Regions from separate parts of the Homo sapiens genome. Here all the other regions are linked to region 1. The links are contacts of gene promoters, found by promoter capture Hi-C in blood cells and fetal thymus (Javierre and others, 2016). All regions are on one chromosome and are shown on one strand. The core of a region is centred on a gene start or on the middle of the fragment in contact, and the rest is flanking DNA. Distances in the headings are between cores, read along the strand shown.

Region 1 (3,717 bases), core at 1,159-3,658:
ATATTTGGCTCTCTCTAGCTGGCCTTGAGTTGGAAGCCCTGACAAAACTTACAGAAGCTGTAAGTTATTAATCACGTCCTGGCCATTTGGGGTAGATTGCTACAAGGGTTATTGCTTGGCTTCCTGGACTGGTTGCTAAATATAGTAATCTGATTTCTTGGACTGGTTACTGGACATAGTAGGTTGCCTTCCTGGACTGGTTGTTGAAGGTTGTAGGTTAGTGTTCTATTTGTATATATTCTCTGGCCATTGTCTATTTGAATTCAGTCTCCCAGGACGGAGGAGTAGGGAGGAAATAAGAAAGGGATAGGGTGGCCAGGTGATTAAGGCAAATAAACTCCTATCAGTACTCCAATAGTCCTGTTGTCAGAGGCGTTTGAACCAGAGTGACTCCAACTTGAACAGGTGCTGGGTAAAACGAGGCTGAGACCTACTGAGCTGCATTCCCAGGAGGTTAGGCATTCTTAGTCACAGAAGATTGGAGGTCCACGCAAGATACAGGTCACAAAGACCCTGCTGATAAACAGGATGTCGTAAAGAAGACAGGCCAAACCCACCAAAACCAAGATGAAGACAAAAGTGACCTCTGGTCATCCTCACTTCTCATTATACGTGAATTATAATGCATTAGCATGCTAAAAGACACTCCCACCAGCACCATGACAGTTTACAAATGCCATGGCAACATCCAGAAGTCATACAGTCTAAAAGAGGGTAGAACCCTAAGTTCCAAAAATTGCCTGCCCCCTTCCTTGAAAACTCATGAATAATCCACCCCTTGTTTAACATATAATTAAGAAATAACTGGCTGGGCGCGGTGGCTCACGCCTGTAATCCCAGCACTTTGGGAGGCCGAGCCAGGAGGATCACCAGGTCAGTAGATTGAGACCATCCTGGCTAACACGGTGAAACCCTGTCTCTACTAAAAATACAATAAATTTCCAGCTACTCGGGAGGCTGAGGCAGGAGAATGGCGTGAACCCGGGAGGCGGAGCTTGCAGTGAGCCGAGATGGCGCCACTGCACTCCAGCCTGGGCGACAGAGCAAGACTCCGTGTCAAAACAAACAAACAACACACAAAAAAACTATATACTCAGTCCAGCAGCCCAAGCCACTGCTCTGCCTATGGAGTAGCCATTCTTTTGTTTCTTTACTTCTTTAATAAACTTGCTTTCACTTCACTATATGGACTCATGATTGGCAACGCTTTCTGGTAACACTGCCCAGGTTTCCTTTGTCAAGCGTGCCTTTCTCAGCCCTACATACCCACAGTTAAATAATCCCTTCTCTCCTGTTTATTTTTCAACTATTGAAAATAGCAAACATCTTAAAACAATTTGTCTTCATGTTTTTCCTCTTAAAAAATTGCAAACGTCTTCTGGGCAGGATTTATGTATTGTTTATCTTATTTATTCTCTTCCTATTGCATCTGGAACACAGTCTGTTTTCAATACCGTTTGTTGAACTCCAGGGTAGATTACAGGGCTGTGTATTATAATCTACAGTACTTTAACTGAAGTTACTCGTTTATTGGTGACTACATTGCTGTCAAAAATACACTCATGTGGCTGGGTGTGGTGGCTCATGCCTGTAATCCCAACACTTTGGGAGGCTGAGGCGGGCGGATCAGGAGGTCAAGAGATCAAGACCATCCTGGCCAACACGGTGAAACCTGGTCTCTACTAAAAATACAAAAATTAGCTGGGCGTGGTGGCGCATGCCTGTAGTCCCAGCTACTTGGGAGGCTGAGGCAGGAGAATCGCTTGAACCTGGGAGGCGGAGGTTGCAGTGAGCCGAGATCGCATCACTGCACTCCAGCCTGGTGACAGCGCCAGACTCCGTCTCAAAAAAAACCCCCCAAAAACAGAAAAACAAAAACAAAAAACCGCAGATGTTATAGAATATAAAATTATAAATGACAAAAAGCTTGAAATAAAACGAGCAGAGCATATAAAAGTTAATGAAGCTGAAGAAAACGTGAGCTTCTCCGTACACTTAACAAGGCTGCGATTTTTACCAACTTTTTTGCACTGTTGTAGCCCCAATAATGTATCTAAAATGGTACTTGACACAGTTTATATCCTTAAGAATGTATGCATGCACGCACGCGTGAAGAATGAATGAATGAGGGGTCGTCCCTTTGCACACACGGAGGTCTACGGGCCGCAGAGTACCTACAGCATGGCCACCGCAAGCGCAACTAAAATCCAGGGCTTGTCGCAGGCACAGGCTCCTCCTTCGGTGGGTGGGACGGCGGCGCGCACTTTCTCTACGCCCCACTGCTAGGATGTGCGGCCACCACTCCTCCTCCGCCGCCGCCGCCGCCGCCGCCGCCGCCGCCGCGTCGAGTGCAAGGGCTTCTGGGAGCCGAGCCTCGGGGTCTCGGAGAAGGGGCGCAGGTGGCCGCCATCTTGGATTGCGAACTGGGTCGCTACGCTTCACGCCAGGGGCGGAGTGGCGGCCCTTCTGTTACCCGCCACACACGTCGCCGCTGGGGACTGGGAAATCAGGGCATCGGAGAGTGCCACATTAATGGGTAAGTTGGAGTGAACACGGGCTAGGTTGGGGGAGCCTCGGTTTTGGTCCCTTTGGGAACTACTAGTTCCTGGGGCCACGGTTTTTATTTACCCCTTACTTTGCGAAGGTCTCTGGAACCTGGCGGTGCCGGGTGTTTCTCGTGTTTTCCCCAGGGCGACAGCGGTCGCGGGGGCGTGGCAGCCGGACCTTTCCCTTGCGGACGCGAAGGCGTGGTGAGTTCAGATTCTTTCAGCAGGTCCTCTGGAGTGATGGGCAGCTGGTCTCATCTTCGCCGCCCCGCCTCACCGTTTCTCGGTAGTTCTTTTCAGTTAATGGAATTGCCAAACGTTGCCACTCATACCTGGTACCCATCAGCTGTGTCCAGCAGCTTATGGAAATTCCACAGTGTCCAAAGAAGAGACAGGTTCCATCCCGAGGGCCTCCTAGCCTCGCCCTCTCCATCCGCCAGCCTCCCTCCTCCACCTGCGTGCAGGTGCCTCTAGTGCTCATTCCCGACGACAAGGCAAGCCTGGGTTCCACGCTTCTAATAGTCGGGCAGCTCCGTTCTAAGATGAAAACTTAGGTTTTCATCGATAATACATAGGAGATGGAAGTATTTGAAAGCTGTGAAATGACAGTGATATGTCTAAAGAATATGACATTGGCGGCGGGCGCGGTGGCTCACGCCTGTAATCCCAGCACTTTGGGAGGCGGAGGCGGGCGGATCACGAGGTCAGGAGATCGAGACCATCCTGGCTAACACGGTGAAACCTCGTCTCTACCAAAAATACAAAAAATACAAAATAAAATACAAAATAATAAATACAAAAAAAATACCAAAAATACAAAAAAAGGAAAAATTAGCCTGGCATGGTGGTGGGCGCCTGTAGTCCCAGCGACTCGGGAGGCTGAAGCAGGAGAACGGTGTGAACCCGGGCGGCGGAGCTTGCAGTGAGCCGAGAGCGCCATTGCACTCCAGCCCGGGCGACAGAGCGAGACTCTGTCTCAAAAAACAAACAAAAGAATATGACACTGGCATTTACTTTTGAGCTTTTTAGACATGTTTTTTAAAAAAGACAAAAACACTAATGATTTATCTCTCAATTACAACACCCAATAATGATGACTCATATTCTGTACAAAAGTGGTTTTCTTGGTAGGTCAGGAGCAACTCTCTCCCTCCGACCTAAGTACTGCTTG
Region 2 (3,621 bases), core at 213-2,712, 2.7 Mb before region 1:
ATAAGGAATTGGCCAGGCACAGTGGCTCACGCCTGTAATCCCAGCACTTAGGGAGGCTGAGGTGGGTGGATCACCCCAGGTCAGGAGTTCGAGACCAGCCTGGCCAACATGGTAAAACCCCCATCTCTACTAAAAAATACAAAAATTAGCCAGGGGTGGTGGCACGTGCCTGTAATCTCAACTACTTGGGAGGCTGAGGCAAGAGAATCACTTGAACCCGGGAGGGTAGTGGAGGTTGCAGTGAGCTGGGATCACGCCACTGCACTCCAGCCTGGGCAATAAGAGCAAAATTCCATCTCAAAAAAAAAAAAAAAGTATAAGGAATTAATAATTTATTCATCACTAATTAAAAAAAAAAGCTACGTTTTTAAATGTAGTTGGCGAAGATACAAACACAAGCAAAACAGACAGACTGTCCTAATGAAGCTTATGTTATAGTGAGGAGAGAGACAAAAGTTATATGGTACAACCAAAAGGAAGAAAAATAAGGCAATAACAGGGACTTAGGTAATAGGAGAAAGCATCTCTGATGAGGTAAAATTTGAAAGAAAAGAGAGGCAAAAGATTTCTGGGGAAAGAGAAGTATAGGAAAATTTCAGTCTTATTTAGTCATGTTTTATTGTGCAATTAGTATTACTGGTATTTATGAACTGCTGCTATAATTAATTTAGCACTTATTTGCCTCCAAAGAAATTATTACCTATTTCACGGATAATAAAGATTTATACCACAGCTAAGAACCCATGTAGTTGTATTAAAGGTTATTCAGCAAAAGACTTTGGTACTACTCATAAATACAAGTCTAAGAAAATCTGACAATCGTTGGCTGCCAAGTAGAATTTCTATAATTTGCTGAAGAAGGAGTACGTTGGGAGGTATCATCTTGGTAACTTTTTTTTTTGAGACGGAGTTTCGCTCTTGTTGCCCATGGCACTATCTTGGCTCACTGCAACCTGCACCTCCTGGGTTCAAGCCATTCTCCTGCCTCAGCCTCCCGAGTAACTGGGACTACTGGTGCCTGCCACCACGCCTGGCTAATTTTTGTATTTTTAGTAGAGACGGGGTTTCGCCATGTTGGCCAGGCTCTTCTCAAACTCCCGACCTCAGGTGATTTGCCTGCCTCAGTCTCCCAAAGTGCTGAGATTATAGGCATGAGCCACCACACCTGGCCTAATCTTGATAACTTTTGTATTTATATAGTTTTATCTGTATACAGTCTTTGAGTGTTTTTTTCTGGACCACTTGTCTCCAAAACTGATTATGCATCCCTCTCAGAGGAGGAAAAAATAGAGCACAGAGAAATTTGTGTATAGTTACATAAATTAGGTATATAAACCCTATTATACTGTATACACCATAAAAACAAGCACTAAATATGTTTGGCCTCAAGATTAATTCAAAACAAAGCATAAACATGTCTAGATACAGTATTAAAAATGTGAGTGGTATAACTAGAGCCTAACACAGCTTAGCTGCTAATTATATTTAAGTAGAGAAAAATCACATCGTTTTAAGGCCCAGAAGGGATCTTAGTGACTATCTAATTAGCTGTATCATTTTACAGATTCTTGATGATCTTCTAGTGTATAAAGAAGGAACATGATTCAGAAGTATGTTTTTGGGAATTTGGAGGCATGGATCAATAGCTACAGTCAGAGAAGTAATAACTTCTCTTACTTTTCTTCAAAGGTTTAAGGATACCTAATCCATCAATGTCTGAAGGTTCCCTTGGGACCAACGTTTCAGTGACCTAAAGGGTTACCTGAAGATTACATAACGTGCAGAGAACAATATGTATATATTTAAAAGTTCTTTCATTAAGATGCAAACAGCCTCAGTGGCAGACATTCTGTGTGGCCAAGAGGCTCCGTGTGCCTAACAGCCCCAGGAAGCCTAAAGGTAGGATTCCTATGGTTATAGAATTTGCTACTTCCGTCCTTTTCTTTTTCACTCACTTTCTTCCTTCTACTTCCTTTACCAAGAAGTTAAAACCATCTAACCTAGGCTAGCAGATAATTCAGACCCTATTACTACAGATATAACCCATTCCCAATCCAATCCATGTTATATACCTTAAAGTCACGATTCTTTGATACAGAAGCTCCTTTCCTTGCATTCTCTTCTCACAATAAAAAAAGAATTAGTATTGCTACTTTTGTAAGCTGACAAAACAATGTTCTCTGGTAATAAAAATATAAGTTTTTGGATGAGGTCAGCACACTATCACATATTAATAATTAGCATAATATAAACATTAATAATCTCTGCAAAATATTTTAATTCCCTCCCACAAAAATTAAAAGAGTATGTGAAACATAAGCAACTAGGAACTCCACTTTAACAAACGAGTCACAGACAAAAGACAAAATAACCCACCAGAGATTTCCAAACTATCAGCTATTCACTTGTTGCTGGCCATCACGTAAGCAGGTGAATGGGCTACAATAAAGTATCATATTAAGTCACAATCACAAGACAAATATTTCCACCCTACTTATCAAGCTTGCATCCTTTCCCGGGTACCCGTGCCTGCTCCCATTCCCACAACGAAGGTTATCATAAATGGGCCCAGGACAAGAGCGCTGTTCAGAAACTGCTACTCAAGTGTACCCTCCTGGTTCTAGGGTTCCATTGTGGTGACAACAAATTACAAGCAGCTTACTTCCTCAGAGCCCATCACTACCAACACCAACTGACAGCTTCGAGAAGGACCTCAGTACCACTTTCCCTAACCAAAATTTTCCTCTTTACTCCAAGCCCTGACAAGGATAAATCTCTAAACTTTAGAAACAATGTAATTTTACAAATTAACTTATACGCAGGGTTACTTCCTTTCCAATTTGATCAGGGAATGCAGGGCAAGAATAACCCAAAATATGCAATGTAAATCATGTTGAAATTAAAATGTATTTCCATCTCCACCCCTCCACGATGGCATAATTTCAAATCAACTTATATAATGCATATCTAGTCCTCTGAAAAATCATTTTTAAAAGTAGGGCTGTTATTATTCTGTCCTAGCTATCGCAGATCAATTTAGATTTGTTCTGTAAGATTTCAGATTTTCCCCAAATGACACAGGTGGTTATTTTATATGTATCAGTCATTAAAAGATTAATCCTTTTTAACTAAAAAGAGACAGTACGGTCATTTACAAGTTAAAGTAGATTTATTCTGAGCTGGTGCTCTGGGGTCTTACTTCTCTAAAATTTTGTGATTTACAATACACCACATGTAGGAAACAGCTTCCAAAATTTGTATTGCTTCCTACAAATCAGACAGGACTTTCAGGAGAAGGAGCCTAGGATAGATTCTCTGTTAAATTTTGGAATCCCTTCTCTCAAGAGTAACCTACTATAAACTATTTACCAAGCCTTTGTGAAATCTGTATAACAGGTTACTACTCCATTGAGCAAGAAAACACAGGAAACAGGATTCGAAGATTTAATGTTACTGCTCATACTCCAAATTATAGAATGCTTAAGATAATTAAATTATCTGACTTTTATAATTCACTACACGGTGACCTCAAATTTACCTCATTAGAATATTTAGTACTTCTGCACTTCTCCCACTTCTCAAAGTTTTCCCATACCAGGATTCCCCACCACCTAGGAACAG
Region 3 (3,728 bases), core at 653-3,152, 2.3 Mb after region 1:
CACAGGGCTGCAGGAAGGAGAAGTGAGGAGCAAGGAGGGAAAAGCCCCTTAGAAAACCATCAGATCTTGTGATACCTCACTCACTATCAGAGAACAGCATGGGAATAACCACCCCCATGATTCAGTTACCTCCCACCGGGTCCCTCCCACAACACCTGGGGATTATGGTAACTACAGTTCAAGATGAGGTTTGGGCAGGGACACAGCCAAACCATATCACCCTATGTCAGATTTATCCATAAATCTAAGGATGGGGGAAAAATATACTTCTTGATATTATGTAAATGACATTTTAAATTTTCAGTTGTTCTTTGATAGTGTCTTAGTCTGTGTTGCTAAAAAGGAATGCCTGAGACTGAATAATTTACAAATAAAAGAGGTTTATTTGGCTCACACTTCTGCAGGCTGCTTCTGGTGAGGGCTTCAGGCTGCTTCCACTCAGTGAAGGGGAGGCTGCCTGTGCAGATCACATGGCCAGAAGAGAAGCAAGAGAAAGGGGAGGTAGTGGTCAGGCTCTTTTTAACAATCAGCTCTGGAGGCAACTAACAGAATGAGAACTCATTATGCAATGGCAGCACTAAGTTTTCCTGAAGGATCTGCCCCTGTGACCCAGACACCCCCAACTAGGCCCCACACTTGGGATCAGATTTTAAGATGAGATTTGGAAGGGAGAAATACTCAAACTATGTCAGATAGTGTGTAAAAATATGATTGGGGGTTTTGTTGTTGTTGTTACAGGTTCTTGCTCTGTTGCTCAGGCTGGAGTGCAGTGGTGTGATCATGGCCCACTGCAACCTCTGTCTGCCAGGTTCAAGCAATCCTCCTACCTCAGCCCCCTAAGTAGCTGGGTGATATGGTTTGGCTGTGTGTCCCCACCCAAATCTCACCTTAAATTGTAATCCCCAGGAGTCTGGTGGGAGGTGATTGAATCATGGGGCGAACTTCCCCCTTGCTCTTCTCATGATAGTGAGTTCTCATGAGATCAGGTTTTTTGAAAGTGTCTGGCACTTCCCCCTCACTCATTCTCTCTCTCTGGCAGTTCCCCCTCACTCATTCTCCCTCTCTCTCCCGCTCTGCTATGGTAAGACGTGCTTGCTTCCCCTTTGCCATCTGCCATGAATATAAGTTTCCCGAGGCCTCCTAGTCATGCTTTCTATTAAGCCTGCAGAACTGTGAGTCAATTAAACCTCTTTTTGTCATAAATTGCCCAGTCTCAGGTAGTTTTTTATAGCAGTGTGAAAACAGACTAATACATTGGAATTATAGGTCTGTGCCACCACACCTGGCTAATATTTTGGTATTTTTTTGTAGAGATAGGGTCTCACTATGTTGCCCAGGCTGGTATAATTGAATTTTTAACATTAATCTTGTATTTGCAATTTTGTAAAAACCACTTATGAGTTCTAACAGCTTTTCTTGTGGATTTTGCTAGATTTTCTATATATTCAGGATTTGTTATCTATGAATAAAGACAGTTTTACTTCCTTTCTATTCTGGAGGCCTTTTATTTCTTTTTCTTGTCTTTTTGCACTGACTAGAAGCTTGAGTACGGTGTTGGATAAAAGTGATGAGACCAGACATCCTTTCTTTGCTTCTGATCTTAGAGGGAAAGTTATCAGTCTTTTACTCTTAAATATGGATGTTAGCCCAGGGTTTTTTGTAGATGCCCTTTATTAAGATGTAGGAAGATTTGAGCACTTTTATCAAGAATGAATGTTGGATTTCATTAAGGCTTTTCTACATGTGTGGAAATGATCACTTTGCTTTTTTTTTCTTTTAGTTTCATATTTTATATATAGATTGAATTGTGTCCCTCCAAAAAAGATATATTGAAGTTATAATCCCCAGTCCCTTTAAATGTCACTTGTTTGGAAATAAGGTCTTTATAGAGGTAATTGAGATATTAGGAATTAGGATGGGCAGTAATCCAATATGACTTGTGTCCTTATAAAAAGGATAAATTTTATGGCTGGGCACAGTGGCTCACGCCTGTAATCCCAGCACTTTGGGAGGCCGAGGCGGGCGGATCATGAGGTCAAGAGATTGAGACCATCCCGGCCAACATGGTGGAACACCGTCTCTACTAAAAATACAAAAAAAAATTAGCTGGGTGTGGTGGCATGCGCCTGTAGTCCCAGCTACTTGGGAGGCTGAGGCAGGAAAATTGCTTGAACCCAGGAGGTGGAGGTTGCAGTGAGCCAAGGTCACGCCACTGCACTGTAGCCTGGTGACAGGGCAAGACTCCGTCTCAAAAGAAAAAAGAAAAAGCTTATAAAAAGGAAAATTTGGGCACAGATACACACACAGCAAGAATACCACATGAAGAGACACAGAAAAGATGGCCATCTACAAGCCAAGGAACACCTGAAATTACCAGAAGCTAAGAGAGAGACCTGGACAGATCCCTCCCTAGCACCTTCAGGAGGAGGATTTCCCTGTTGATATTTGGATTTTGTACTTCTGGCCTCCAGAACTGTGAGACAGTAAATTTTGCTTGTTCTGAGCCATTCAGTTGGTGGTACTTTGTTATGGCAGCCCTGGGAAACTAATACATCAATTGATACATGAATGTTAGATCAACTGCGCGTTTCTGAAATAATCTCCATTTGGTAATGATGTATTCATCTTTTTTATATATTGTTGAATTTGCTAACATACATCAATGTTTTTATTATACTTTAAGTTCTGGGATACATGTGCAGAACATGCAGGTTTGTTACATAGGTATACATGTGCCATGGTAGTTTGCTGCACCCATCAACCCGTCATCTACATTAGGTACTTCTTCTAATGCTATCCCTCCCCTAGCTCCACATCCCCTGACAGGCCCCAGTGTGTGATGTTCTCCTCCCTATGACCATGTGTTCTCGTTGTTCAAATCCCACGTATGAGTGAGAACATGCGGTGTTTGGTTTTCTGTTCTTGTGTTAGTTTGCTGAGAATGATGGTTTCCAGCTTCATCCATGTCCCTGCAAAGGACATGAACTCATCCTTTTTACATGATTTTAATTTTGTAACTTCTCCCTTTAATTTATTTTTACAGTTTTTATTGTGAGAATAGTCCATGAGGTTGACAAAAACTCAAGCCATGCTCTCTAATAGATTCCACTCCCCTCCTCAGAAAAGAACTGTCCTCTTTAAACTCAGTCAGTGTTAAGAGGATCATTACTGAATTTACAGATTCATTCTGCATAGATTTGGCTTCCTAAGAAGAGTATTTAAAGGGTGGAGCAAATGGCTAAAAACAAGGCTCTACCAATCATTCCCCCTCCACCCCTTAGGAACACCAAACTTAACAACTGTCTACACAAAGAACACAGTTATAAGAACCAAAAATCAGATGAGCACTCACAGTACCTGGTTTTAACTTCATATCACTAAAAGATCAATGAAGAGGGTAAGAAAGACAGTCTTGAATTGCAGATGCATCCCTCCCCCATACCTGGGCAGTGTCCACATGGTGTGGAGAGAGAATCTGTGCACTTGGGAGAGGGATAGCATAGAGATTATGGGACTTTACGTTGAAGTGAGTGCTTCCCTGTGACAGTGGAAAGCAAAATCAGGCTGCACTCAGCTGAAGCCCACCCGCAGAAGGAGTGTATAAACCAGCACTAGCCAGAGGGGAATCACCCATCCCAGAAGTCAGAACTTGAGTTCTGGCAAACCTCACCACCATGATTAAAGTACTCTGAGGCCCTATATAAACTTGAAAAGCAGTCTTGATCACA
Region 4 (3,761 bases), core at 736-3,235, 2.7 Mb after region 1:
CGCTCCCCATCTCCGCGCTGAGACTGCTGCCTCTTTCCTAGGCTGGGCTGAGCGCGCTGTCCCACGGTCCCGCAGCCCCGGCGCGGCTCAGGTGGGCGAGCGCGCCGACCTGCGGGCGAATGGCAGCGAGTAGAGCAGCACGGTACACTCCGCCGCGGCCCCGCGAGCACTAATCTCACTGCCGGTCTTGGGGCGGTGGAAAGCGAGGGAGGCGACGCGGCCGGAGAGTGACGGCGCGGCCGGGCCAATCACGCGCCGCCCAGGGTCCCGCGGGGGCGGGGCCGAGGCGAGGAGGGGGATGCGCGGGGCGGGGAGTTTACGGGAAGCGCAGCCTCGGCGGGGCCCGGCCGGCGGCGGGGAGGTCGCGGGGCCGGGAGGCGCGAGGTAGGCGGGAGCCGCGGTGAGGAGGACGGTCGAACCCGTGGCTGAGGCCCAGCGCCGAGAAGCGGCAGGCAGAGTTCGGGGTCGGGGAGTTTATCCTGCGCTGGCCTCGGCAGGGGTCCCCGGGGTGGTTGATCCTCGACTGGCCCGGGAGGCGCCTGGGTCCGCGCGGGACCTCTCTGCCTCCTCCTCCGACCCGTGCGGGGCGGTCGGGGGCGCTCCCGAGGGGGTCCCGGGAAAGGCGGGGTCTGGCAGGGGGTCCTGGGCGCTGGGTCGTTCAGAAGCACGGCTTTACTCCAGTTACCCTCTTTTTATCCAAGGCCGGGGTTCCCCGGGTGCCTGGTAGCAGTGAAACCCCAAGTCCCTCGGTTAGGGGAGCCGTGACCCTGGGAGCTTTTGAGCTCTCTGGTATAACATCCTTTTACATCCTAAGAGACACAGTTCTGTGCTTGCTTAGGACTTTTTTCGTATGCGCCCTTTCTTCCCCCAAAAAACAAAAAACCGAAAAAACTTGTATGTCTCTCCCGCCCACCCGTACTTTCACTATTCATTTACCTCATAGAAGTTGGTCAAATTTTCCATTCGAAGACGAGTTTTATGCTGCGGTAGCTTCAAGCAATAAGTCGAACACTGTGTTGAAATTAAGTCTTGGATCCGACTACTTCCAGCGAAGTGAGGAGTTGGTCCAATAGAAATTATTTTCCAAAATGTGTTGTAATTCTCCTGTTGCTCCACAAATAAGGGGTTATCAGAGAGGAAAACGTTGACTGACTTCGCATTTCTGAAAGCTGGTTTGTAGTCGCCTTATTTCATCCTTACCCTTCTCTGGAAATGTGACATTAGTTCTGTTTGTGCTTAAGACAAAGGAAACAGCTGGCACCTTTCGGGAAGGTGGCTCCAGTACAGTTGTTTCCAGGTGTTAAGCTGTATGAGAAAGTAGAAAAGTAATCAGAAATCCTTACTAGTTTTCATTTAATCATTTAATTATTAATTTTAACCATCATTATTTGTCGTCTACTTGTTTTGTGTAAAATGAGTAATACACTCAAAGTTCTTGTTAATAGGAAATTATTGTTTGATAAAGCTGGCTTTATGGCTTGGTTATTTTGATACCTGCTATGAAATTCTATGTCCAGAAGAGTGCAGCATATCCAAGCAGGGTAATAAGTTCAGAAGGACTGAAAAAGAAAACAAAGATGATTTTTCTTTAATGATGGAAAGGCAATTTTTATTTCAAACGATTATGCATTTGTAGGTTGTGCATAGGCTGAAAGGTTTGAATCACTGTGAAATAATGTTTCTAACAACATCCTTAAAACTGAGTTACCTCTTGAATGGATAGATAAATAGGAACTGGGTTAACTACCCCAAACGCTAATCTCTTTATGATCATCCTTTTTTGGAATGATTTATTATTTTAAAAATTATGTTGTAAGAATGGAATTATAGCCCCGGAAATATTTAGAAGCTTTATTTCAAATTAATGTTATTAAGTATTCCAGCAAAACAATAAATTCCACTTTTAAGTATATGTTAAAATGGTGATAAATAAAAGTTATAACTTAATTCTATTTCTGACACTTTAATTTTGATACCAAATCAGTTTGGGCATTTAACTTCTGTAGTGGAAATATTAAAAATTTAGTACGTGGGTTTAAGGATTTTTTCCCCTAAAAACTTTAAATTTATCTATGTTGTTTCTACATCTTTTAAAGTAACTATTCTTTTTAAGTTCATCATGAAGCTTATTTTAAGATTTTTTTCTTATTTTCCGTATTTCTTAAATGACAGGGTTATACTTGCAGCCTGGCTTTGATAATATGTTAAACAAGAAGTTAACATGGGTGGTTGATTATAGGTACATATTAAAGGGTGTCTGTGTACATTAGGTGGGATAAGAACTATATAGGAACACCAATATTTGGGCCAGAGCAAATTTGAAAAATTCACAAAGAAGGTATCTGAAGAGGCATAGCAATCGAATTATGCATCCTCTTTAAAATAATCACATGAAGCCCTGTGTGCTCATGGTAAGGGAGGAGTAGAAAATAGTCAACAAGTAAAATTGTGCATTTTGTAGAAGCAAAATCGGACACTTTCCTCTGATTTCAGTACTACAAAGCACTTGACATTCTACCATTGAAAAAAGTACTTTGTACCCTGAGATAAAAATAAAGGTGATTGGTTCTTGTCTTTTAAGTAATGAAACCTTGACTTTGTCCCCTAAGTCAAGACTCCCTAGCCACATCTACCTGAAGGTAATGTCACCATCTTTATGAATGCAATGATAGTGCTGAAATTGCTGTTTCTCATTATGGATGGTCTAATGTAAACCTAAGAACCTTAGTAATTTTGTGGGATTTTTAAAAAAATACTTGCTATGTTTTTTTATTTGGCCAGCCAGTCCTTTTGAAGTATAACTCTCTTGTAATTTTTGCAGGTTTGCTTGCAAACTTAATTCTTACATTTTCCTTTTTCAATACTTAATGTTTTTGTGTATTTCTTTGATAATTTGTAAATTTTTGTGTTTCAAGATTATATCTTTGAATCAAGTAATTTTTTAAAAACCTGATCATCAGTGATACCACAAAACACTACAAAGAAATCCCCAAATAAATGTTGTTGCTTAGATTTTTCTACTTTCAAAAGAAATTACCAAAAGGTAGATTTAATTTTTACATTAACATGCCTAAAATGAAATATAGTAATAATTATGAGCAGACTTACAGAGGAAAAATTGGCAATATTTTTATAAAACTGATAAATTTATATTTTTATAAAATTATAAGTTCTCAAAAATTGAAGTGCAAAAACATTTCTTAGGAAGTTTCTAGGCAGTACTAGTTAGAAGTTTGTGGAAGAATCCTTTTGAGGATTTTTGTTCTCTTACTTTAAATAAAACTTAATCTAGTGAAAGAAATGAATTTAATCTACATGTACAGTAAATAATGACTGAAATTCTCCAACAAGTTAGATTTCTGATAAAATCTTTTAATGGGAGATTTTCTAGGTCACAATAGGTCTTTGCTCTTATTTTTTAAAAAATCCAAATGTAATACGTAAAAAATGATTCATTGTGAATATTAATCTTGAAGTTTCAATACTTCAATGGGCACTCTCAATTTTACATGAGATATATTAAGGTGGAAATTAACCAGAGTTTTAAAGGAAACTATCGGTGTTATTTGTATGCAAATTGGAGTCTACTGTTATATTTCTGATTCCATGTTTTTGCTCTTCCTCAATTTACTTTGGAACTGCCTGAGTGGCAGATTATTTTTATAGAATTCCAATCACATTTTTTTGAGGGGGCGTGGGTGCCAGGGGCAGTGAGGGCAGGAGCCCTCTGTTCCTGCAGGCTCCTGTTGAAAGATATGGTT
Region 5 (3,372 bases), core at 711-3,210, 2.6 Mb after region 1:
ATCACTACTTAGTAGCTACGGTTGCGAGGATGAGAATTATAAATGGGAATAAAGCAGTACTGCCAGATTTAGGAAATGGAAATATTACACAGAACCTACTTATACTAAAAAAAAAAAAAGTTGTTTATCTGAAATTCAAATTTAACTGAAAGTGCTATATTTCATCTGGCAACCCTAGGACAATGGGATAGGACACATTCAGTTCCTGGTTCTGAGTCCACTGTCTGCTCTCTGGTTTGTGCCCTGTTCTGTGGTAGGCTCGAAAAAGGGGTCAGAACATTTGAAGGGCCAGACAGGAACAGAACCACCAGGTCTAGGGCAACTAGAAGTGAATGGGAAACGTGACAAAACGAGAGTCAAGCCCCTCACTAAAGCTATTTAAAAAAAAAAAAAAAATCAAAACTACGCTGGCTAAGGGTTAAAAAAAAAAATCCGTGAGCCACAGTTAGCCCACAGCCCAGCAGTTTGCACTGCAACCTCTACTTTACAGGCACGCGTCTAGAACTAACCACTCTGTTTTTAGGTCTGTGGGCATGTGGCTTCCCACCAGCCCTGGTTCCCATAGCTCTGTGAGGAGCTTCTATTCCACTTCTAGCATAGGCTGCCCTTCAGGGCCAGCTTCCCGGACTGCTCTGGTAGCAACATATGTGCTATCTCTTTGCCACAAATTAGCAAAAGTCTTTGAGATCTGAGGTGCATAAAGCATTATGTGTAAGCTTCTCAACAATTCTTTCACTGGATGAGCAGTAGTTTCACATTTTAGAAGTATTATTTTGTTCTACAAATCAAACTGTAGGAGCTGTCGTCATCATGGGTTATGGAGGCCGAGGCTGTAAAGGAGGAAGTGAATTAACTTTGTCAAACAGCTACCACACTGCACTGTGAGGGGAATTTGATATAATTTAACACATCCAATCCTTACAACACCCTCTCTGGGGTATTATTATCCCTGTTTTACATATGAAGCTGAGGCCCAAGGTAGTGTAGAGAAGAGCAAGGCTGGAAACTCTCTCACGCTGATTTTCTCCACTATACACTGAACAGAGCCCTCACTTTTTTGCTGCTTGCAAACCTCAGACAGTCATCTGAGGCCTCTGAGCCCTCCTGCTCCTCCATGCACAGAAGGCAGCTCTATCTGGGGTCTGAGAAGCTGTGGCCAGGCCTGGCACCAAAATGACACATGCCGAATCAGGACTGGGAGCTGGCTCAACTGAAGACCCTCACAGCACCACCTTTCCTTGCCTGCCCTACATCCTTCAATTCTCACAGCCTTCCTCCTCCTCCACTTCGGCTCTCAGCTCCAGCTCTGTACCTAACTTTTCTCCTCCTGCCCTGTATGCTACTGGGGCAGACAAGATGGTGTTGTCCTATTCGACCTGGCCTGTCACTAGATTTATGGAAAACCATGAATTCCTCTCCTCATGCCAAGCTGCTGTCTACAGCTCTGATATTTTCTGAAGTTTACTACCACCACGGGAGCTAATGTGGACCAGCTTCTCTTTCCTCTTTCTGTATTACTCGACTTCTTGTTGCTATGTGTGCAATTCGTTTGTTGCCAGGTACTCGAGGTTGCCTCTTATCTACTGAGTGGAGAATATATATATATGGATGGGGATTTTCTTCAGATTGAGGTGTCCTGAATTCTCCTACAGCCAATTTTAATGTACTTCTAAGTTGGCAGGAGATATATAAAGAAACAGTAATTATTTAATGCTATTGCATGAATTCTAATGTGCCACTGAGCATTAATTCCCCAGTGAAATGAAAGCGTGGTTAGCAATAGCAATTTCTTTAGAAAAAGAGTCAGAATGACTGATAAAGCCAGTTTTAAAAAATGAGAATTCTAGTAATCACTACTTGTAATGGACAGATTGTTCTGTTTCTAAGAAGTATCTCGTTCTCCTAAGGAAAACCCAGTGTTTCCAGTTCTAGCTAAAAAAATTGGATCATATGCATTTAATGGTTCTCTTTTTTTATGGCCAAATTTTGACATTATTTTATAAAAACTCTTGTGCTGTTACCAAATGGCAGAGGGTACAGGGGAAAAGAAAAAGAATAAAGAAATACTTGACCAAAATATAAGTCCATTTCTCTAAAACATTCTAAGGGATTATAATTTAGCAACTCAAAAGTTAGAGGTCAGAAAAGGGCTTATTCATAGGTGAATATCTAGTCCATTCCTTTTTGGAAGGAAGCACTATTGCTGAGAACACTTTCCTTACATAGAACAGTTTGGCATCAGCTTAGGGTCTACCATTTGTAGTTATTTCCTTATCAAAAATATCTGTCTTGTGGTTGATGACTATGGTCTCCAGGCAGAAGCTGTCACTGAGTTCAGAAGTTGTCACTTTGTGTTTAAAGGTTTAACCTCAGGGTTTTTGGTCTGTTTATTCGGCAGATTTTTAATTAACACGGAAACTTTGAATTCATTAGATTAGCTGTGCTAAGACCTCTGTGGTCAATGTGAGGCCAGCAAGTGACCCCTTGCAGGCCTGTGGTGACAGGTGATCTCCCTCACTTGGTCCCCAGGCCAAGATCTTACAGGGCTTTCCCAACATGGGAAGCATCAGCAACTACAGATCTTTAGTGATCAAGAGAAAAAGATATTCATTTTTGTGGGTTTTTTTTTTTTTTTTTTTGAGATGGAGTTTTGCTCTTGTTGCCCAGGCTGGAATGCAGTGGCGCGATCTTGGCTCACTGCAATCTCCACCTCCCGCGTTCAAGCGATTGTCCTGCCTCAGCCTCCTGAGCAGCTGGAATTACAGGTGCCTGGCTAATTTTTGTATTTTTAGTAGAGACGGGGTTTCGCCATGTTAGCCAGGCTGGTCTCGAACTCCTGAGCTCAGGTGATCTGCCCACCTTGGCCTCCCAAAATGCTGGGATTACAGGAGTGAGCCACCATGCCCAGCCAAAAAAAGGTATTCCTTGCTGGGATATCACAGATGCTCCCTTAATATCCTAAGGAGAGCTAAAAAAGTGTGCCATAGAAAACAAATACTATTTTCATGTAATGTCTAATCTCAAAAGTTTTTTTTTAATACTTGTAATAAAAAGGTAAGCCCAAACATTCTAACTCATACATATATCATTCCACAACTTCAAATTTTCACATTTTAATTTTTGCAGCAGTGACAAAATGATTTTTAAAATTGAAATGTGCTATCTTTAAAAGATTTGTTTATAGATTTGTCAACCTTATAAAGACTAAGCTTTTTCTTTTAGATTCCTTTTTTAAACTTTACAAATACTATGAGGTTATCACTAGTATTACTAGTAGTTAATAAAGTTACTAATTATTTAGTGATCGATGAAAATGAATTAGCTTGAATTTCATTAAAATGAGCAAAGTCAGATATAGTTACCTTTTTAAAT
Region 6 (3,259 bases), core at 236-2,735, 2.4 Mb after region 1:
CCATGTTGGCCAGGCTGGTCTCGAACTCATGGCCTCAAGTGATCTGCCTGCCTTGGCCTCCCAAAGTGCTGGGACTGTAGGCATGAGCCAGGGCACCCAACCTAAACCTTTAACCTTTAACTCTAAATCTTTAACTCTAAAGGAAGTCCCTTTATAAGTTTGTGACCAGTTAATTAACAGGATACTATGCTTTTGTGTCCATTAGTAAAATGCAACAAATTAATCCAAACCACTCCACTATGACTAAAAGATTACATCCAAGCCACTGCATAACAGCATGGCAAAGCTACAATGTAACAAAGAAAAAGAGATGCTGCATTTGGCATGTACTAGTGCTAAGGTGAAACACAGCCAATTGCTATGTTTTATGAGGCCACTTACCATTCTTGTTCAAAGACTCAAGTCATAAGCAATATAGAATTATTATGAAAGAGTATCTAGATAATTCAAACAAACCAATTAGTGAAAAATCATTTATTTCATGTACAGAAAATAGTATTATTTGAAAAATTCACTGGTTTTGGTGTTATATAAACACATTCTGGTTTTGGATATAGTAAAAGCAGAGTTAGTATAAAATGACTGATCACAAGGCTTTTTTATATTTGCTAAGAAACTAGTATATTAATTACCTACATTCTGAAGTGTCAAATACTTATAATGTAGACAAAGAACATTATATTTGTATTTTTTACATCAAAAATACATTAAGAAATAAAATAGCTTTTTGAAGCAGTTTAAAGGGCAGTCAATAAACATTTACATATTTAGGAATAATTTAACTCAGCTGAAATGATCTATCATTAACCCAGAAGAGTAGCAGATACAATTCCTAAAAAGTACTGTCTTTCTCTGCTGTATAACAAAATTACTTGCTGTATCATTATGACCACCATCTTCTTCAGTAAATACTTATTAAGCTTTGGTACTATGTGCAAACCATTCATATTAAGGTTACATGTAATAAAAGATACAGTCCCTAGAGCTGAGAACCTTACAGTCAAATTATGAAAACAAAGTATATTTATAAACACAATAAACAGTATTTGCAAGTTTGCATTATTAAGTATCAAGTAAGAGGTACCAACAATCAATGCTAACGCACAGCAAGGAAAGCCCAACAAGGGTAGCTGGTCAGGACAGTTTTAGTAGAAGAGCCATAAGCTGGGTATTAAATAAGAGGACTTGATGCTAAGCACAGAAAACACAAAATAAACTACTTCCTGCTGTTTGGGAACTTACACTGTACCATATATTACTTATGTCTATACTAGTTAAGTGATAAACAGACTCTGTATCAAAAGTGCAATCAACTAAAGAGGGATTTGATAAGCAGCTAACATAACAAGGTATTAAAAGGGAAGTTTCTGCTGAGAACCAGAGACGATAGAAATGACATTCCAAAGCAGCTGCCAGAACATTCTCGAAAATGTCAAGAGGCAGTCTAAAGAAGAGTGCTGAGATGTGTTACTTTCCACCCCCACCACTAGTGAGGTGGTGCTTCAAGAAGATTACAGAGTAGGTTTCAGAGATTTCCCTGGGGAGAGCTGTGGTAACAGGGGCCTGTGTCTTCAAGGGGGAAGGGTGGAAGATGCTTGTCCCACACCTAAAGCCTAGGGAAAAAGGCTTTGAGGGAATGACTTGAAGAACTTGACATGTGCCTCAAGCACTTTGAAGAACATGCTAACCTGGTACCTGATTAATCCCCAGAAAATCTAAATGATGAGAAGCTGCATGAAGAGGCATGTGAGAACAAGAGAGAGGGCTGAACTGGGACCACTAGCAGAGTTTGTGCAAAGAATGAGTGCTCCCTATGTGGCCTCTACGGAAGAGTGAACAACCTGGGGTGGGATCACACAAGTCCATGCAAGAGGGGTATCTAGAGTTTGCACAGACCTCAGCAAAGTGGAGGTGAAGGTACTGCTAGCTCCAAGAGGCTGAGGAAGGAGTAAGCAACCAATCAGCGCATAAGGGAATTCTCACTGTCAAGGAATTGAGGTGAAAATCTAGAGCCACTGAGGTGGGAGGTAGAAGATTCACCAGTGAAAGAATAAGCTTTAAACATCTGCAACGGCTACAAAAGCACTGAAACTAGATCACCAGCTAGCTTCTTCACTAATCAAGTAAAAGTTTGCTGCTCCTCTTTACTCTTTTCACTTCTTCCTTGACCAACTTTGGAAGGGTGAGAAACCAGAACTGGCAAGACAAAGCAGGAAGAGTAGAAAAACCAGGTAAGAAGTAAAAAGGCAATAATACCCCCTTCCCTAGTTACTGGTTTCCCCCTTGCAAGAGACAGAGCAAGAGACCAGTTAAGGGAGAAGCTTCATCTTTATTTCAGGCTTGGTCTGCAGTTTTTACTTGTTGGTACTGGGCATTTTAATTTTAATAATCAAATTGAGACTTTTGTGACTTTGTTACTGAAGGATGATTTGTATTATCTAAAAGCAACCAGAAAAATTAAGTTAACCCATGAAAGAGGATGAACCAGTCTCAAAGAGTAAATTGAAAGAGACAAAAAGGGAAAAAAAGTAATTTGAAAGTGACAAAAAAAAAGCTTTTATAATTACATCCCACAAGGCCTGCTTTTCAACCTGATATCCTGAAAAGTCAACACAGTGGAGAGCACAGAAGTATACAAATGTGGTCTTATAAAACATAATTGAATCCATCCAGCTTCACTGCCTATCTTGAGATAGTTCAGCCATTAACATTTGCAGAAACTTGCCATAATGTAGCTCAAGAATCTAATATTAATTCTTAAAACTTGACACGAGTGACCCAAATATGCTAGACTTCCTTTAAAAGGCAGGGACTGTGTCTTGCTCCCTGCTGTATCTGTAACATTTTCCAAAGTCTCCCTTACATAAAAGGTGCTTAAAGAACTGGTGTTCTCCTTACCATGAGAAGGCAGCTATGTTAGGCTCTTAGGAAATAGGATATGAACAAATATGCATACAGCAAAGACTGCTTTTTAATTAAAAATATATTGAGCTTTGCTATGGGCAAAATTATAATCTTTATTACTTTTCATGCTTATCCTTTCATAGCCAGCCAAACCTTTGAAACATGCACAATGTATTTTCAGAACATTCTACCACAATGCAGAATAAATGTGAAACCTTTAAACTTTGATATTCGAAGGAGAAAAAAAACTACTATATATACATTTTTAAAGAGTTTAGCAGAAAACCCTCAAAATAAGTACACTATCACACAACGCTGTTAAATGCAGAATGGTTTAAAAGGAGAGAAGCATTTT
Region 7 (3,327 bases), core at 35-2,534, 2.7 Mb after region 1:
AAATATAGACCTAGGGGGATTTTAAAAAGCTTGGGAAAAGAGACCCAAATATCCTCGTGCCCAACAAAGAATATCTTTCCTTTTATTAGTTGGTTTTTATTAAACAATTCCTGCCTTGAAGTCTAACATGAAATACTTTAAAAGTTAAAAATTATATCATAGATTAAAAGCTTTCTATTGTTTTAGGTTGAATCATAAGAACTTAAGTGTACCTCGTATGTTAAGACTAAAACAGCCAAAATGTTCTTCTGAAAATCTTTAAGAGTATAATGTTCCAATAAAAGGAAGTAAACTTTTAGAACATTAGTTGGTGTTCTGTTTCCAAATCTAATCCTCCAGGCATAAACTACATTTAAGGAGCAGATTAAAACCACCCAAGAACAAATTATTAATTCAGTTTTCCATTTCACTCTTGAATTCTTGTCTTAAATGCACTAGGAATCTCTGCTGCCAATGTAGTTAAAGCTGCAGCAGCTCTAATAATCAACGGATATTATCACAAAGGGTGGATACATCCTAAAATGAAAGCACCATATGCCTAATTATTGAGCTAAATTTACACATGTAGTTATCTCTGAATGAAACATTTTCAGCTTTTCAGCTCACAAAAATTATTTCTTTCTATGCCCTGAAGGTATTTCTCCAGATTTCTTTATCCCTGGCTTTCTTTCCTCCCCACATATCTGAGTGTTGTGTGACAGCAGGCCCAGAAGTCAGAAGTAACTGGACACTGATGAATGAATGAGGAACCACTCCATTCAACACCCTCTCTATGGTTTTCCTGAGGATGAGCATCCCTTCTGTGTAATAACAATTCTAACAAGGCAAAATAATGCTTACTTTCCTGCCATAGGAAGTGAGAAATTTGGCAACAACAACTAAAAGGGGAGGCAACAATAGAAAATAGAAGCTATTGGTCAATACAGCAATACTGCAGCCAAAACATACTTTTCTTTCCTGGAAATGACTTTCTGAATCCAATTTACCTACCAACCCCTTTCCTTATCACTCCTACCAATTCCTAGCTGCTAGTAAGTACATACTATGTATTGAATAATGAATGATACATGCCAGGCATTGCGCTGAGAGATTCACATACATTTTCTATTTTAATTCTTACAACAACTCTGAAAAAGAGGAATTATTAACTCCATTTCAAAGGCGTGGAAAGGGAGGACAGAAGTGTTTCTACTCTGCCATACTGCCTCACATTTATAAAACATTTTGTTGATATACTTAATCTGGGTTACATTTAGGATGAATTGCCTTTTATTGTCAAATTCTGGGCCACGGACCTATGAGATAAAAAAGGTGTCCCCACTTCTAGGGTGTCTGAAATCTACTTGAAAGATAACATATATGCACACAAAATCAGTGACACACAGGCCAAAGATAGAAATAATCAATAACATGGGAATTTGGAGAAGGGAGAAATCAGTGAAGGTTGAGAGTGTAGAGAGGGCTTCATGAGGACATGGATTTTGAGCAAGTGAGAAGACTCTCCTTTTGAGAACCATAAAGTAAACAAGGTGAAATCCTAAACGACATGTGTTCTGGAGATAGTAACTATGTAAGTTTTGTGGAAGCACAGTCCTTCCTGGGAAGTAACAGAGATACAACTCAACAAATAAACTGATGCAGATTTACAGAAGACTACGGATGCCAAGCTAAACATTTGTGACTTCACTGTGACTTCATTCTAGAGCAAAATGTTTTTCTAGCTGAAGTCACTGGACCAGAAGCATCAGTATCACCTAGCAACATGCTAAAAATGCAAATTCTGGGGCCCACCCAGGCCTACTGAATCAGAAACTCCAGGCTTTCAAAATTTTTTTATTATTATTTTTTTTGAGACAGAGTCTCACTCTGTCACCCAGGCTGGAGTGCAGTGGCACAATCTCGGTTCACTGCAACCTCCGCCTCCTGGGTTCAAGTGATTCTTCTGCCTCAGCCTCCCGAGTAGCTGGGACTACAGGCTCACGCCACCACACCTGGCTAGTTTTTGTATTTTTCGTAGAGACAGGGTTTTACCACGTTGGCCAGGCTGGTCTTGAATTCCTGGCCTCAAGTGATCCTCCCTTCGGCCTCCCAAAGTGCTGGGATTACAGGTGTGAGCCACTGCGCCCGGCACCAGCAATCTGTTTTAACATGCCCTCCAGGTGATTCTGATGCATGTTGAAGTCTGAATCATTACTTTATAGGAAATGGAGGACCATTAAAACCTGAGTTGGGCAATACGAGAGAAGTGATGTTTTAGGAATATTAATAGTCATCTGTAGAATAAACTGCAAAAGGGACCACTGACAAATGCATAAAATTCATTGAGCCTCTACCATGCAATTATTTATATGACACAGCACTTTTCAGGAGAAACAATATGAAATTGGGAAATAGAAAACCAAGCTTCTTTCTCTTTCTCAAAATATCACACCTTCTTAGGGAGGAACATGTTTATGTAATTCTGATTTCTCTAGTGGAAAATAATAGCTAACCTATGACTTTTCATTTTAGTGTGGTACTGTAAGCATTACTCATTAAGACACCTTTATCTCTCAAAAAATTTTGCCAAAATGGAAACAAAACAAAACCAACTCTAGGTATATCCTGTATAAAATTGAAATACAAGAAAAATGGCAACCCTTATTAAATACTGTCCAGTATTCTAGGTAATAAAGAAAATAAATGAAGACTCTACCTACTTTAAAAATAACATATCTAAAAAAAAAATACTGGCTGTAGATATAAACACTTTTCAATAAAATAACAGAATCTTTATATTCGAGTGTTGACCTTTAAAGGAATCTCACAATCATCTACATTTATTTCAGCAGTGTTGTATTTGGTCAAAAGACTTTTTTTTGTTTTTGGCACCACTTTCACCAGTTTACAGTCATATAAGAAAATGAATGCAGTTTTCATTTTATAAATCATTCTGGAAAACAACTTGAAAACTGGAAAAGGCATTTCCTATATTCATTAGTCTCTTTATTCACTAGGTCTGATTCTAAATGACTTCTGACTGTTGTAAAAAAAAAAAATCAAAAAGACAAAGACTTGTAGCCCATGAGTATATACATTAGAAAGGACTTCAAAGATGAGCGGACACCACTTCTGGAATACCAGATTACTTAGCGCGAAATCACACTTAACCTGAGTAACTCCTGTAGGCATGTTTATTTCAAAGAGCATATTCATTCAACAAATACATACTGGGCCCTATTATGGGCAGGGCCCAGAGCTAACTGATCTGTTGGACACATGGATGAATAGGGGAAGCTCTTTCTCCTGCCCTCAATATGATAGTTCTGGAAGGGACGGACGACTGCA

What was found. Contacts are between HindIII fragments. The CHiCAGO score rates a contact against its expected background, and 5 or more counts as called.
Region 2: a fragment that was not itself captured here is called in contact with the fragment with the promoter of KPNA5 in region 1 in 5 of 17 cell types (activated CD4 T cells, total CD8 T cells, fetal thymus and 2 more); the score reaches 15.8 in activated CD4 T cells.
Region 3: a contact is called between a fragment that was not itself captured here and the fragment with the promoter of KPNA5 in region 1, in 2 of 17 cell types (non-activated CD4 T cells and naive CD4 T cells). The highest score is 6.1, in non-activated CD4 T cells.
Region 4: a contact is called between a fragment that was not itself captured here and the fragment with the promoter of KPNA5 in region 1, in 4 of 17 cell types (non-activated CD4 T cells, total CD8 T cells, fetal thymus and 1 more). The highest score is 9.6, in non-activated CD4 T cells.
Region 5: a fragment that was not itself captured here is called in contact with the fragment with the promoter of KPNA5 in region 1 in 2 of 17 cell types (total CD8 T cells and naive CD8 T cells); the score reaches 13.5 in total CD8 T cells.
Region 6: a fragment that was not itself captured here is called in contact with the fragment with the promoter of KPNA5 in region 1 in 3 of 17 cell types (non-activated CD4 T cells, total CD8 T cells and naive CD4 T cells); the score reaches 7.6 in non-activated CD4 T cells.
Region 7: a contact is called between a fragment that was not itself captured here and the fragment with the promoter of KPNA5 in region 1, in 1 of 17 cell types (total CD4 T cells). The highest score is 6.5, in total CD4 T cells.

Annotation. Positions count from the first base shown.
Region 1 is chr6:116,678,803-116,682,519 of GRCh38, forward strand. It overlaps KPNA5 (karyopherin subunit alpha 5), which reads left to right and starts at 2,409. Exons shown (of 14, transcript NM_001366306.2): 1 at 2,409-2,536. The coding sequence starts at 2,533. RefSeq lists enhancers at 2,006-2,989, 2,990-3,717. The HindIII fragment of the contact is 1,991 bases long and covers 1,925-3,717 here.
Region 2 is chr6:113,966,258-113,969,878 of GRCh38, forward strand. All of the region lies in intron 1 of HDAC2 (histone deacetylase 2), which reads right to left. It overlaps HDAC2-AS2 (HDAC2 and HS3ST5 antisense RNA 2), which reads left to right and starts at 3,444. Exons shown (of 10, transcript NR_125845.1): 1 at 3,444-3,621. The HindIII fragment of the contact is 2,076 bases long and covers 425-2,500 here.
Region 3 is chr6:118,936,102-118,939,829 of GRCh38, forward strand. The region is part of intron 1 of LOC124901389 (a long non-coding RNA gene); the gene reads left to right. Among named protein-coding and RNA genes, the nearest start is that of MCM9, 2.8 kb to the left of the region's middle. The HindIII fragment of the contact is 727 bases long and covers 1,540-2,266 here.
Region 4 is chr6:119,349,591-119,353,351 of GRCh38, forward strand. It overlaps MAN1A1 (mannosidase alpha class 1A member 1), which reads right to left and starts at 171. Exons shown (of 13, transcript NM_005907.4): 1 at 1-171. RefSeq lists a silencer at 92-731. The HindIII fragment of the contact is 276 bases long and covers 1,848-2,123 here.
Region 5 is chr6:119,313,556-119,316,927 of GRCh38, forward strand. The region is part of intron 2 of MAN1A1 (mannosidase alpha class 1A member 1); the gene reads right to left. Among named protein-coding and RNA genes, the nearest start is that of MAN1A1, 35 kb to the right of the region's middle. The HindIII fragment of the contact is 2,493 bases long and covers 715-3,207 here.
Region 6 is chr6:119,072,060-119,075,318 of GRCh38, forward strand. The region is part of intron 1 of FAM184A (family with sequence similarity 184 member A); the gene reads right to left. Among named protein-coding and RNA genes, the nearest start is that of MIR548B, 4.5 kb to the left of the region's middle. The HindIII fragment of the contact is 1,135 bases long and covers 919-2,053 here.
Region 7 is chr6:119,334,238-119,337,564 of GRCh38, forward strand. All of the region lies in intron 2 of MAN1A1 (mannosidase alpha class 1A member 1), which reads right to left. Among named protein-coding and RNA genes, the nearest start is that of MAN1A1, 14 kb to the right of the region's middle. The HindIII fragment of the contact is 2,233 bases long and covers 169-2,401 here.